2 separate regions of the Homo sapiens genome follow, and region 2 is linked to region 1. The links are contacts of gene promoters, found by promoter capture Hi-C in blood cells and fetal thymus (Javierre and others, 2016). All regions are on one chromosome and are shown on one strand. Each heading gives the region's core, a stretch centred on a gene start or on the middle of the fragment in contact. The rest is flanking DNA. Distances are from core to core; before and after follow the strand shown. Region 1 holds the start of KCND1 (potassium voltage-gated channel subfamily D member 1). Region 2 overlaps TFE3 (transcription factor binding to IGHM enhancer 3).

Region 1 (7,020 bases), core at 3,853-6,352:
TATCCAGGCCCCGACCCACCTCAAGGCCCCCATTCTGCTTGTACTGCAGGAAGGCATTGGTGGTACCACTCTTTGCCAATCGGATCCTTGCCAAGCGCACCTTCTGCAGAGAGAGGAGATAAAAGGTCAGGTGGGTAAGCCCCAAAGTAGACTGGCTTGGGGTGTGGGGAGTAGGAGGTGCTCGGATGGAAAGTGCGGTTACCTGCTGTGCTCGGCGCTTGTCAGCCCGCTGGTTCTGGTGGTAGATGCGGCTAAAGTTGGACACAATGACTGGCACAGGCAGGGCAATGACCAAGACGCCACTGAGTGAGCAGATGGACCCGAAAATCTTGCCAGCAATGGTGCTGGGCACCATGTCTCCGTAGCTGGAGCGAGGGGAGGTAGGCCAAGGTCAGGAAAAGTGCCCACCTACCTTTCAGTCCCCCACTCCATCCCATCTAATCCGGACTAGCTCTGTGACCCTGGCCAGGCACTCAAACCTTCTGAGTCCCTCAGTTTCTTGCTCTGTAAAATGCTGGGTGGCCAAGTGAGAAATGGGCCTGGCCCTCAACCCCTACCATCTGCTGCCCCTGTCCAAGCTACATACCAAGCACCTGAGTCAGCTAGAAATCTATGAAAACCAAGCAGAGGGGAGCATGAGGAAGTCACAGGCAGTGAACACAGCCTCCTGGGGAGAGAGTCCCAGCACCACAGGCCAGCCGAAGGGCTTCAAGTCCCGGGAGGAGTGTTTTGTTGGTTTTGGCTGCCTCTGTCTTACCTGCTCTAGGTAGGACCCCTTTTCATTCCCCTATAGGGGAATCCTTGAAAACTGTCCACATATGACAAAACAGGGAGGAGCCTTGAAACCCTCCTGCCTTTCTCCATGCCACCCACCTCCCACAGAGACAGAGCAGAGCCAACCTTACTAACTTGTTCACAGAGAGCTCCCCTGAAGATCAGGGAGATTCTGTAACTGACTCGCCCAAGATCACACTGCATACTCTTGTTCTGACCGCAGAACCAATCAGAACTCCTCCAGAGAAACACAGCCTCTGCAGTCTTCAGCCTCTAAGCCTTTTCTCAGGCTGTGCCCTAGGATGGCTGTTCCTTATTTCGGTATTTTCACTCATTTTAAGCATTCAGGACTCTGCTCAAAAGTCTTTCCAACTTGGCCATTGCTGGCTCTGTGATGTGTCATCTCAGAGCGTGTCCTCAACTGTGAGACATGGGCAGCCATCCACCATCACAGAGTTGTTGTGAGGACTTGAATAGAGTAAAAGCCATCAAAATACTCAGTTCCAGCCCACTGTCAGCGCTCAGTATTTGTTTGTCAGTCTGATCCTGGACCTCCAACCAGAATTGGGGTTTCTACGCTTTAGAAACCCCAAATCAACTTTTTTTTGTACCTCTATGAAGAAACTGAGCAAACCCAATTCATTCAGTCATTCCTTCAACAGATACTGAGCACCAACTGTATACCCAATCCCAGTGATGGAAACTTAGAGAAGGATCACAGCATCTGCCCTAGACAGTATCTTTGGAAAGCTCATGAGTTCGATGATTCCATTTGATACTTTTATCCCAACTCTGTTTCTTCTGCAGGGATCGACAAAAAAATAATAATAATAAAAATGCTGAAAACATCTTGTTCTGGGAAACATCAAGGAATCACAAAGGCTCAGAAGTAGTGCCCCACACAGCAGACAATTCTAGAAGGTTGGGAGACATGGGTCCCCAAAACAGAAAAAGGTGCTAGAAAGCCAACACCTATGTATCCTGCACCAGAAACATTCAGAGAACTTTCACAACTATGATGTCATTGAATCCTCTCTAGATGATGAAGGGATCAGCATTTCCCATTTTACAGAGGGGAAAACTGAGGCCATGAGAAAACGACATCAACAGAAAGAGAGCAGCTAAGACAATCCTTGAACCCAAGTCTCCTGACCTAGAAAATCAAGGCATTGTCAGAGCTGGGAGGGATCTGAAGAATTAAGTCCAGCTCCCTCAGTTTGTACAGATGAGCAAACTGAAGCTCAAAAAGAGAAAGAGGCCAGGCGCGGTGGCTCACACCTGTAATCCCGGCACTTTGGGCGGCCAAGGCGGGCGGATCACCTGAGGTCAGGAGTTTGAGACCAGCCTGGCCAACGCGGTGAAACCCCGTCTCTACTAAAAATACAAAAATTAGCTGGGCATGGTGGCGTGTACCTGTAATCCCAGCTACTTGGGAGTCTGAGGCTGGAGAATCACTTGAACCCAGGAAGCAGAGGTTGTAGTGAGCTGAGATCTTGCCACTGTACTCCAGCCTGGGCGACAGAGTAAGACTCCATTTAAAAAGAAAGAAAGAAAGAGATCATTCCTTTAAACTTCCTAATTTTACAGAAAGGGTGAGTGTAATCGGGCAGCCCCCAACGCAGAGTCCACACTCACCCAAGCGTGGTCATGGTGACAATGGTATACCAGAAGGCCGCAGGGATGCTTGTAAAGTTGGTCTTGTTTGTGCCCTTCTCAGCATAAAACATGACAGTGGCAAAGATGATGATGGCCATGGTTAGGGAAAAGAGGAGAAAGCCCAGCTCAGAGGCACAGCTCTTGAGTGTGTAGCCCAGAATCCTCAAGCCCTGTGAGTGCCTGGAGAACTTGAAGATGCGAAACACCCGGAACACACGCAGGGTGACAAAGGCGCCAGAGACATCGTCGTTCTTGGGCACCAAAAGCCCAATGTAGTAGGGCAGGATGGCCACCACGTCGATGAGGCTCATGACACTCCGCAGGAAGCGGCAACGGCTGGGGGCGGCAAACAGCCGCAGGAGGTATTCACCTGTGAATATGAGTACACAGGCTGTGTCCATGCAGAAAAAGGCCTGTGGGAAGCGTTCGCCACAGGGCTGCTCCCTTGAGGACCTGCGTGCAGAGCCGCGGCATGGGATGGTCTCCACCACATTGGCGATGACCGACACGGCGATGAAGAAGCCGGTCACATAGTAGAAAACGAGGGCTGCGGTGCTCGTGTGTGGATTCTCGAAGGCCCGCCAGAGCCGCTGCCGCAGGGAGCTGCCTGCTGGCAGGGCTGGGCCGTCCCCGGCCTGCTCTGCCTCCTCATCCTCTGCCAGGCGCTCGGCATTCTCCTTCTTTCGGTCCCGATACTCTTCAAGGCAGCAGTCACCGACTAGCTCGGGAACCAGGCCGTAGAAAGCCAGCTCTTCGTCGAAGGCCTGGATGCACTCCTGCCGTGGGCAATGCAGCCGCCCCGTTCGGTAGAAGTTCAGCACATGGCGGAACATGTCAGGGTCGCGATCGAAGAAGTACTCGCCTGAGTCAGCATCGTAGAAGAATTCCTTCTCCGAGCTGCCCAGCAAGGTGTCTGGGTAGCGGTCCAGCGTATTCTTCCAAGTCTCAAAGCGCCGTCCGCTCACGTTCACCACCAGAACCTCATCTCCTCGAGATGCCTTCACCCCCGGTGCCGGGGGCAGGGGTTGCTGGGCCAGGGGCAGCCAGCCCACTGCTGCTGCCCGAGCAAAAGGCAGCCACGTGGCCAGGCCTGCCGCCATCGTGCCACTCCCCAAGCCCAGGGAGACTTAGTGAGGGTGGCGTTTAGGAGAATGTGGCTGTCTCCAGGATGGTGGGGGCTTGGAGACACCTTGAGCCACCCAAACAAGGAAACTGGGGGTGTCTAGAGAGGCCAAGAGGAACCAGGAGGAAGAACTAAAGAGATGGGAAGGAGTCTGGGGGACATTTACAGAACCTAGGAGGGGCCTGGGCAATGTTCTGAGGGACTGAGAAGGGCCTTGGGGACATGGAGAAGAGCAGAAAAGGGGTGTGGGGATGGGGCCAAGAAGGAGCTGAGGGAGGGTTTAGAGAGACTGAGATGATTCTAAAGGAGTCAGCCTGTGCCTGAGAGGTGTCTGGGGGCGTCTAGAGGGGCCAAGAAACACGTGGGGAATTCTCTGCACTCTCAAGAGTCTCAGGGAAGGCAGAAGAGCCTGGAATTCCTTTGCAGTGGTGGAGAGGAGACTGGGGCATCCAGAGGGGTAGAAATGGGACCAGAGGTGCTTGAAAGAGACTGAGAGTGCCTGGAAGTGGGGGTTCTAGAGGGGCTGAGACAGGTGAGGAGGGTTGTCCACACCCTCAAGACTTCTAGGGGAAGCATAAGAGGGTTAGACCCCCCTCATGGATCTGGAAAGGGAGCTGGTGCATCTTGAGGGGTGGCTGTGGATCCAGGAGGTTGTAAAGAGGCTGAAAGGTGTCTTGGGACTGCCTAGAGTTGCCAAGAATAGCCCGGGGGGGTGTCTATACTCTACAGGAGTTCTGGGGAAGAAAGGAGAGGCCAGAGCCTCCTAGTAGGGCTGGAGAGGGGAAGGGGTTATCTAAAGGGGTAGACAGGGGGCTGGGTTATTTTTTGAGAGGCTGAGAGTTATCTGGGGGAGGTGGGTATCTAGACGGGCCAACAAAGCCTGGTCGACACTCTCAGGAGTTCTACAGGGAGGAAAAAGGGGCCTGGGGAATTCCAAGGGCCGGGACTCAAATGTTAGGAAGTTGGGCACAATCCCAGAGCACCCAGGGGATCTATGAAGACTAAATAAGAGGAAGGGGGTTAACCCCAAAATGGGATTAAGAGGGGGGTGGGGTGTTGAAAGGGAGTTGGGTGTGTCTCCAGGGAGGGGGGCTCCTGGGCTTTGCAGGAAGCTGGCAGGAGACGCCGGGAGAAGGCTGGGTCCCACCGTTGGGGGCAGGTCTGGGGAAACCACACCCCGAGGGGCTGGCGGTGTGTACTGGGCAGTGGCAGTAGCAGCAGCGGCAGCAGGAGGAAGAGAAGCAACCACAGCCAGGCATAGGAGAGAAGGTGGCATAGGCAGGGGGAGGGTGCGGGGTCCCTGGAAGGAGGCCTGGGAAGGGCAAGGTCCAGTGGGACCCCTGGGGACTATCCCAGGATGGGTTAGGGCGTGGGGGCTGGACCAGGGAAGGATGAGGACAGCGCTAGTGGTGGTCCCCCTCCCCCTCTCTCTCGGGGCGTCCTCACCTGTGTCCCCGCTGCAGGAGCAGCAACAGCGGTGGGGCTGGGGGTACCAAACACCCGAGCTCCTGGCCCCCTCTGCAGAGCTGCCTGAGTTCTCCTCCTCCTCTGGCTCTCTCTCCCCGCCCCTCTGAGCTTGCCGGGAGATGGAGAGGCAGGGAGGGGCCTCGTGGCTCCCTGAGCCCCCTCCCCTAGGACAGCCAGAGAGGGACCCTGGGGAGACTCCGCCTCCTACAAAGCTGGTTGGGCCTCAGTCGCGTCATCTGGAAAATGGGGGTGGCAGGGAACTTCGCCAATTCTCTCCACCTCCTTCCTGGACTCCCCTCTCTTCCTGCCCAGCTCCTACCCGCTCTGCCCCCAGGGGCCCCCACCCCCACTCGCCTGAATCAGCAGCACTTAGCAGATCCGATCGATGGGAAGGCGTCTGTTAATGGCCCCAGAGCGGAGTGCCACAGGGAATGATGCAGCGCTGTCCCCTCCCTGCCCCCCAGACTGTGGAAAGGCAGGAGAGCCAGGAGTCGGGGGTAATTGCTGGGGAGTGTTTCTCTAGATGGCCAAGCTTCCGAAGCCGCCCCCTTGAGGGGCGCAGCATGGGTTACAGCCCCAGCTCTAAGACTTCGGCTGTGGGATTGGAGCACGGGACTTCCTGTTTTTAGATATGAAATGAGGGTAAAGGGAATGTAGAGGGGGACAATCCAGGTCCCACCCCCCTACCATCTCAGGCAGGCCCCACTCCGAGGGGGTAGTCTCTCTTATCTGTCCATATCCAGTGGCCTCAAATCACACCTCCTCCGCTAGAGGGCTCTGCTTCTGGATGGCAGGAGCACTGATTATGGAATGCCTCTGGCTGGCTATGGGTGGGTTCAAACCCCAGCTTTGCCACTGACTTGCTGCATCCTTGAGCAAGTGACTTGCATTGTTTCCTCAGTTGTCAGATGGAGAGACTTATCCCAACTTGATAGCGTCATTTGGAGCATTACATGATGTGAAAGGTGATAGCACTGGACACAGCTCACACCAGGGATGCTTAATCTTAATTAAAGGAGTGTGATGACAGGGGCACTGTAATGCAGGGCCAGGCCTAGCCTTTCACCCAAGATTTACCCACCCGTGTAAACTTCCAATTGCCCATTTGGCACACTCCTGATTTGTCCATTTCTACATCCATTCCTCCACCTACCCATCCACCCATTCTCCCACCCACACAATCAATTCCTCTATCCATCCCTCCACCCACCCGTCCACTTAGTCGTTAATCTACCCACCCACTCATTCATCCATTTGTAAGTTCACCCCATTTGGCTGTTTGCCAATCTATCTGTATGTATCCATCCTCTGCCCATCTCTTCCCACCCGGAACACATGCAGGGTGACATCCTCTGCCCATCTCTGTCCATACATAGCTCCACTTGTCATTTCTTCTCCCACTCTTTACCCTTCCCATTCATTAGCTCATCTACCCATCCATCCATTCCCCCAACCATTGGTCCATTTACTCCTAACCTGTCCATAAACCCATCCATCCACCTGTCTACCTAAATCATCCACCCATTTGTCCATAGACCTATTATCCATCTGTCCATTTACATCTCTACTATCCATCCTCTATCCACCTACCAATCTATCTACCCATTTATTCATCTAACCACCTATCCATCCATCCATTTATTTCCCAATCTATCCATCATCAGTCCATGCAACCGTTCACTTATACATCCATCGGTCCATCCAACCACTTATCCATCCTCCCATCTGTCTACTCATCTATACCCACAATCCCATACATGTCTACCCATGTACATATCTGCAGGTATTTCAGCTCCACTCAGTTTGAGGGGCTGGTCAGCAGTAAATGGAGACAGGCTGGATGAGGGTGGGGAAAAGAGAGTAACGTTGCAGCCAGAGACCTCTCTCCCTATTCCAATGGTGTAAACCTCCCCGCCCCCAGCATATTCCTCCTGGTTGAAAAGAACGAGACGAGACAGTCAGTGGGTGGGCCCGTCTGGCCAGATGGTATTTTGGCTGCA
Region 2 (6,741 bases), core at 4,237-6,736, 57 kb after region 1:
TACCCTTTCTGTTATTCTTGCTCAAATTGTTCCAGCTTTGGCCATTGGGAGTTGTTTTTCTTTTTTTTTTCGAGACGGAGTCTCACTCTGTTGCCAGGCTGGAGTGCAGTGGCGAGATCTCGGCTCACTGCAACCTCCGCCTCCCACGTTGAAGCAATTCTCCTGCCTCAGCCTCCCGAGTAGCTAGAACTACAGGCGCGTGCCACCACACCCAGCTAATTTGTGTATATTTAGTAGAGGCGGGGTTTCACCATGTTGGCCAGGATGGTCTTGATCTCTTGACCTCATGATCCGCCCACCTTGGCCTCCCAAAGTGCTGGGATTACAGACGTGAGCCACCGCACCTGACCAGGAGTTCTTTCAGGTTGGCTTCTGTATCTTATGACATGCTGCAATCATTGCTTTTTTGTTTGTTTGTTTTTTTTTTTTTTTTTTTGAGATGGAGTTTTGCTCTTGTTGCCCAGGCTGGAGTGCAATGGCATGATCTCGGCTCACTGCAACCTCTGCCTCCCAGGTTCAAGCAATTCTCCTGCCTCAGCCTCCTGAGTAGCTGGGATTACAGGTGCCCCCCACCACACCCGGCTAATTTTTTGTATTTTTAGTAGAGACGGGGTTTCACCATGTTGGCCAGGCTGGTCTGAAACTCCTGACCCCAGGTGATCCATGCGTCTTGGCCTCCCAAAGTGCTGGGATTACAGGTGTGAGCCACCATGCCTAGCCTCCATCATTGGTTTTAGGCATTTCCTTACTTTCTGTCACTACAGGATGCTCCAGGCTCATCTTGTATTTCTCTCCACCCCAGACTGAAAATCAGCCATTTTTCCAGGAGCACTGGTTTCTTTTATTGGAGAATGGCATTTAGAAACCAAGGTCCAGGCCAGGCGCGGTGGCTCAGACCTGTAATCCCAGCACTTTGCGAGGCCAAGATGGGCAGATCACCTGAGGTCAGGAGTTCAAGACCAGCCTGGCCAACACGGCGAAACCCTGTCTCTACTAAAAATACAAAAAGTAGTCAGGCGTGGTGGGCAGCGCCTGTAGTCCCAGCTACTCAGGAGGCTGAGGCAGGAGAATCGCTTGAACCCAGGAGGCGGAGGTTGCAGTGAGCCAAGATTGCGCCATTGCACTCCAGCCTGGGTGACAAGGGTGAAACTCTGTCTCAACAACAACAACAAAAAAGAAACCAAGATCTGGCCACTAGATGTGCTCATTGTTTCTGGGATAGCATGATTTGTAGGACTTCTCAGTAGACAGACTGAGAAACCGTCTGCAAAAACCAAGAAGATAGGACCACTTAGTACAACATAGTATCTATGGTAGGTGCCTTCTGAGATGCCCTCAACCAGTGCTCCCTGCCTGCTATATTCTTGGTCTTGTGTAATCCCCTCCCCTTTAGTAACTTCTTTGCAAGTAACAGAATGCCTCAACCTTGAGGGGATATCACTTCCATAATTAGATCACAAGAGATGTGACCTCTGTTTTGCTAGCCAACTCTTTCTCTCGCTGGCTTGGATGAAGCAAACTACCATGCTGTGAGCCACTGCATGGAAAGGCACACATGGTGTGGATGGTGGGCACCTCTGGCTAACAGCCAGCAAGGAACTGGGGCCCTCTGTCCAACAGGCTGCAGAGAACCGGATCCTGCCAACAAATATGGGAGCACAGAGCAGATCCTTCCCCGGTCGCACGTTCAGAGAAGTCCTCAATCCTGCCCAACTCCTTCCTCGATTGTGCCTTAGTGAGAGAGGCTGAAGCTGAGGACCCAGCTGAACCCAGCCTGGATTCCTGACTTGCAAAACCTGAGAGATAATTTATGTGTATTGTTTGGAGCCACTAAGATTGTGGTCATTTGTTTCACAGGAATAAGTAGTACGGCATACTTACTTGGATCCTAGCACAGAAAAGACGTTAGTGGAAAAGCCAGTGAAATCCAAATAAAGTCTGAAGTTGAGTTAATAGTACTCTACCAATCTTATTTTTTTTTTTATTTTTTATTTTTTTTGAGATGGAGTCTCGCTCTATCGCCCAGGCTGGAGTGCAGTGGCGCAATCTCGGCTCACTGCCAGCCTCCTGGGTTCATGCCATTCTCCTGCCTTAGCCTCCCGAGTAGCTGGGACTACAGGTGCTCGCCACCACACCCAGCTAATTTTTTATATTTTTAGTAGAGACGGGGTTTCACCGTGTTAGCCAGGACGGTTTCGATCTCCTGACCTTGTGATCCGCCTGCCTCAGCCTGCCAAAGTGCTGGGATTACAGGCGTGAGCCGCCACGCCCGGCCCAATGTTATTTTCTTAGCACTGATAAATGTGCCATGGTTACGTAGAATGTTAACATTAGGGGGAGGTGGGTGACAGGTATGAAAGCTCACTAATGGTGATGCAACTCTTCTGTAAATCTAAAATTATTTCAGAAAAACTGTTAAAAAACCTCTGGGAGGCCAGGTACGGTGGCTCACGCCTGTAATCCCAGCACTTTGGGAGGCTGAGGCGGGTGGATCACGAGGTCAGGAGATCAAGACCATCCTGGCTAACGTGGTGAAACCCCATCTCTACTAAAAATACAAAAAAATTAGCCGGGCGTGGTGGTGTGCGCCTGTAGTCCCAGCTACTTGGGAGGCTAGGGCAGGAGAATGGCTTGAACCCAGGAGCCGGAGGTTGCAATGAGCCAAGATCCCACCATTGCACTCCAGCCTGGGCGACAGAGTGAGACTTCGCCTCAAACAAAAACAAAAACAAAAACAAAAAAACACACCTCTGGGAGGCCAGGTGCAGTGGCTCACACCTGTAATCCCAGCACTTTGGGAGGCCGAGGCAGTTGGATCATTTGAGATCAGGAGTTCAAAACCAGCCTGGCCAACATGGTGAAAACCCATCTCTACTAAAAATACAAAAATTAGCCGGGCAGTAGTGGCATGTGTCTGTAATCCCAGCTACTCGGGAGGCTGAGGCAGGAGAATCGCTTGAACCTGGGAGTTGGAAGTTGTGGTGAGCCAAGATCATGCCACTGCACTCCAGTCTGGGTGACAGTGAGACCCTGTACCCCCTTCCCCCCCCAAAAAAAAACCTCTGGGCATTACATGTTACGTTTAAAAAATAAAGAAGAGGCCAGGCACGGTGGCTCATGCCTGTAATCCCAACAATTTGGGAGGCCGAGGCGGGCGAATCATCTGAGGTCACGAATGCGAGACCAGCCTGACCAACATGGTGAAACCTTGGTCTCTGCTAAAAGTACAAAAGATTGGGCCAGGGGCCGTGGCTCATGTCTGTAATCCCAGCAATTTGGGAGGCCAAGGCAGGCGGATCATTTGAAGTCAGGAGTTCAAGACCAGCCTGGCCAACATGGTGAAACCCCATCTCTACTAAAAATACAAAAATTAGCTGAGCAGTAGTGGCACATGTCTGTAATCCCAGCTACTCGCAAGGCTGAGGCAGGAGAATCACTTGAACCTGGGAGGCAGAGGTTGCAGTGAGCCGAGATCGCACCATTGCACTCCAGCCTGGACGACAGAGCGAGACTCTGTCTTTAAAAAAAAAAAAAAAAGGCCGGGCACAGTAGCTCACCCCTGTAATTCCAGCACTCTGGGAGGCCGAAGTGGGCGATCACGAGGTCAGGAGTTTGAGACCAGCCTGACCAACATGGTGAAATCCTGTCTCTAATAAAAATACAAAAATTAGCCAGGCGCGGTGACAGGTGCCTGTAATCCCAGCTACTCGGGAGGCTGAGGCAGGAGAATTGCTTGAGCCTGGGAGGTGGAGGTTGCAGTGAGCCGAGACCGTGCCACTGCACTCCAGCTTGGGCAAAAGAGCGAGACTCCATATAAAAAAAAAGAAAAGTACCTAAAATTTGCCAGGTGTGGTGGCACATGCCTGTAATCCCAGGTACTCAGGAGGCTGAGGCAGGAGAATCGCTTGAACCCGGGAGGCGGAGGTTGCAGTGAGCTGAGATCGCGCCATTGCACCCCAGCCTGGGTGACAGAGGGAAACCCTGTTTCAAAATAAATAAATAAATAAATAAAATAAAATAAAATAAAATAAAATAAGAGAGTATAGGGCCAGGTATGGTGGTTTATGCCTGTAATCCCACTTTGGGAGGCCACGGCAGGTATATCACTTGAGGCCAGGAGTTTGAGACTAGCCTGGGCAACATGGTGAGACCCTGTCTCTACTAAAAATACAAAAATTAGCTGGGCGTGGTTGCGCGTCTGTAATCCCAGGTACTTGGGAGGCTGAGGCACGTGAATCGCTTGAACCTGGGAGGCAGAGGTTGCAGTTAGCAGAGATCATGCCACTGCACTCCAGTCTGGGCAATAGAGTGAGACTCCGTTTCAAAAAAAAAAAAAAAAAAAAAAGAGAGAGAGTACAGCAAAGTTGAGGAGAAAAAATAAAGGTTATTAGGGAGCCATCAGTCTGGTTACAGAGATTCAGCAACCAGGCTTGGAGGGGTAGCAGTGTGATAGGTTAGAAAGAGCTAGCAAGGGTCGGGTGTGGTGGCTTACACCTCTAATCCCAGCACTTTGGGAGGCCGAGGCAGGCAGATCACTTGAGGTCAGGAGTTCGAAACCAGCCTGGCCATCATGGTGAAACCCCGTCTCTACTAAAAACACAAAAAATTAGCTGGGTGTGGTGGCAGATGCCTGTAATCGCAACTAGAGAGGTTGAGACAAGATAATTACCTGAACCTGGGAGGCAGAGGTTGCAGTGAGCCGAGATCATGCCACTGCACTCCAGCCTGGGTGACAGGGCGAGATTGTCTCAAAAAAAAAAAAAAGAGATAACAAGTATGGTGGTCACAGTCTAGGGTAGTCACGGTGACCAAGCCCAGTTCCAGCCCTCAGAGGTCACAGTCTGGTGGGGGAAATGGAGGGACCAGGCCTGATGCTTGTTCTAGGAGTCAGTGTCTGGTTGAGAAATTGCGGGAAAATACTTTTTCCCAGCCTTCAAGAAGATACTTGTGTTCATTTAAATTCTCCCAAAATCTCAACATCTGTTCCAAAATTCAGTTGGTTGCTTGTTCCTCTGCCTTTCAGATATTTGTCTTTGTCCTTTCCACCATCTTAAATACCTCTGTTGTCTGCCAGGAAATATCCTCATAGACTTCTTTATCAGTTTCAAAAGTGGATTTGCAAGAAAAGCTTCTTTCCCCCTCTGCCCTCAGTGGCATTTTTCAATCGAGCCCTCACTCACCTGACTTTACTGTTTTACCGCCTCACCCATTTACAGGCTTGCATATCTTCAGAACAGTTCAATTCTATTCCTCAGCTTCTTCAAAGACCAAATGGAAGTAAGAAGCAGCATGTTCTGACTAACATCCCTTTAGAGAAATAAATTAGATGAAACACTTGCAGCAGTTAAAATTGTGCCTGGTGATTGGTCTTTAAAAATACTGTCTTTTGTTTGCATATTGTCTTCCTCCATGCCCTCTTCCTTTCTAAATTCTTTTATCCATCCTTCTGGAATCTGTTTCTCCCAAGGACTTTTATCCCTCTTGGCCTGCATGGGCTATGTTCACTGCACAGTGTAAAACAAGGACAGGAGACTCTTTGCCAAAGTTAAAAGCGCATCAAACACGCCTAGCTTTTATTATTTTAATCACAAACCTATAGACCCCTCAGTATACCCTCCATGGGGCCTGGCCCCAGCAATCCAAAGCTGACAACCTTGGGTGTAGGTATGAGGGGTGGGAATGGAGGGGGGAGTGTCTCTTGATAACTCTGAAATGGGGTGATTCCTCCAAATGAAGAACTGGGTGGGGAACAGAGGTTGGGGTGGCCTAGATTCTCAGTATGCGGAGCAATAAAAAAATCAGATAAACAAATGAGGGGGTACAATATGCTTTTACAACCCTCCTCCAAGCTTCTGCCTTGCTGGGGGAAGGCTTCCAGTTTTTCCTGGGCTGGGGAGGTCCCAGGATAGCCCCTTCCTTCATCCTCTTGCCCTACATGTTGAAAAAGAATACTGAGGTACTGGTTCTGGTAACCTGAACTCAGTCCCCCACTAATACCCATCACCTTCCCAAACTGCCCCTCAAGGAAGAAGGCAGGACTCTGCCCAAGGGTGGGGGCCTCTCACTCCAGATATAGGTCTGGAAAATTCATCCATGAAATTTCATAATCTGTCCCCTTCCCCAAGAGCAAGGTTGGCTCAGAGCCCTCCTAGGTTAGGTCAGGTTGGTCCCAGGTTAAGGCAGGGGAGCTTAAGTACCACTCCTCCCTGCAGTGTGGAATGCTTAGATGGGATGTTGCTGAGGGACAAGGGTGGGGCTGTGATCTCCACAAGCACTAGCGGTGGCCTGGTCCTACTGATTCTTTCACACCTGAAATACCTGTGCTGGGCTGTTCCTATAGGGAAGGGGTGGGGCCTGGCTCCTCCATTCCTAGAAGGCCAGGAGAGTTCCCAGGGGAAGGGGCTGGGTCTCATCCTCACTTCTGTTCCTTGCCTGGGCAGAGCAGGGCAGGGTTCATGGGGAAGGGGCAGAGCTTAAACCCCCAGGGCTGGGACCTCCATTACTTGACTCCTCTTCTGTGCCAGGACGGACTAGACTGGTGGTTCCAAGACAAAGGATGGAGCAACATCCTGACATCTCCCTTTCCCAGGAGACCTGGCTAGGACAGTCCCTAGGGGACAGGGTCGAGACCTCATCCTGTCTCCTTCCCTCACCTGGGCAAGGATGAGTCCCACAGGGGCAGGGGTGAGGCTGTGATCCCCAGGGGGCAGGCCCTGATCTCATGTCCTTCTCCAGCCTTCT

Evidence for each region. Contacts are between HindIII fragments. The CHiCAGO score rates a contact against its expected background, and 5 or more counts as called.
Region 2: a fragment that was not itself captured here is called in contact with the fragment with the promoter of KCND1 in region 1 in 1 of 17 cell types (total B cells); the score reaches 5.5 in total B cells.

The regions. Positions count from the first base shown.
Region 1 is chrX:48,966,742-48,973,761 of GRCh38, forward strand. It overlaps KCND1 (potassium voltage-gated channel subfamily D member 1), which reads right to left and starts at 5,103. Exons shown (of 6, transcript NM_004979.6): 1 at 2,410-5,103; 2 at 203-365; 3 at 20-103. The coding sequence starts at 3,530. GRIPAP1 (GRIP1 associated protein 1) reads right to left here. Exons shown (of 26, transcript NM_020137.5): 26 at 6,982-7,020. The HindIII fragment of the contact is 6,364 bases long and covers 1-5,550 here.
Region 2 is chrX:49,023,191-49,029,931 of GRCh38, forward strand. TFE3 (transcription factor binding to IGHM enhancer 3) reads right to left here. Exons shown (of 10, transcript NM_006521.6): 10 at 5,536-6,741. Among named protein-coding and RNA genes, the nearest start is that of TFE3, 17 kb to the right of the region's middle. The HindIII fragment of the contact is 721 bases long and covers 5,127-5,847 here.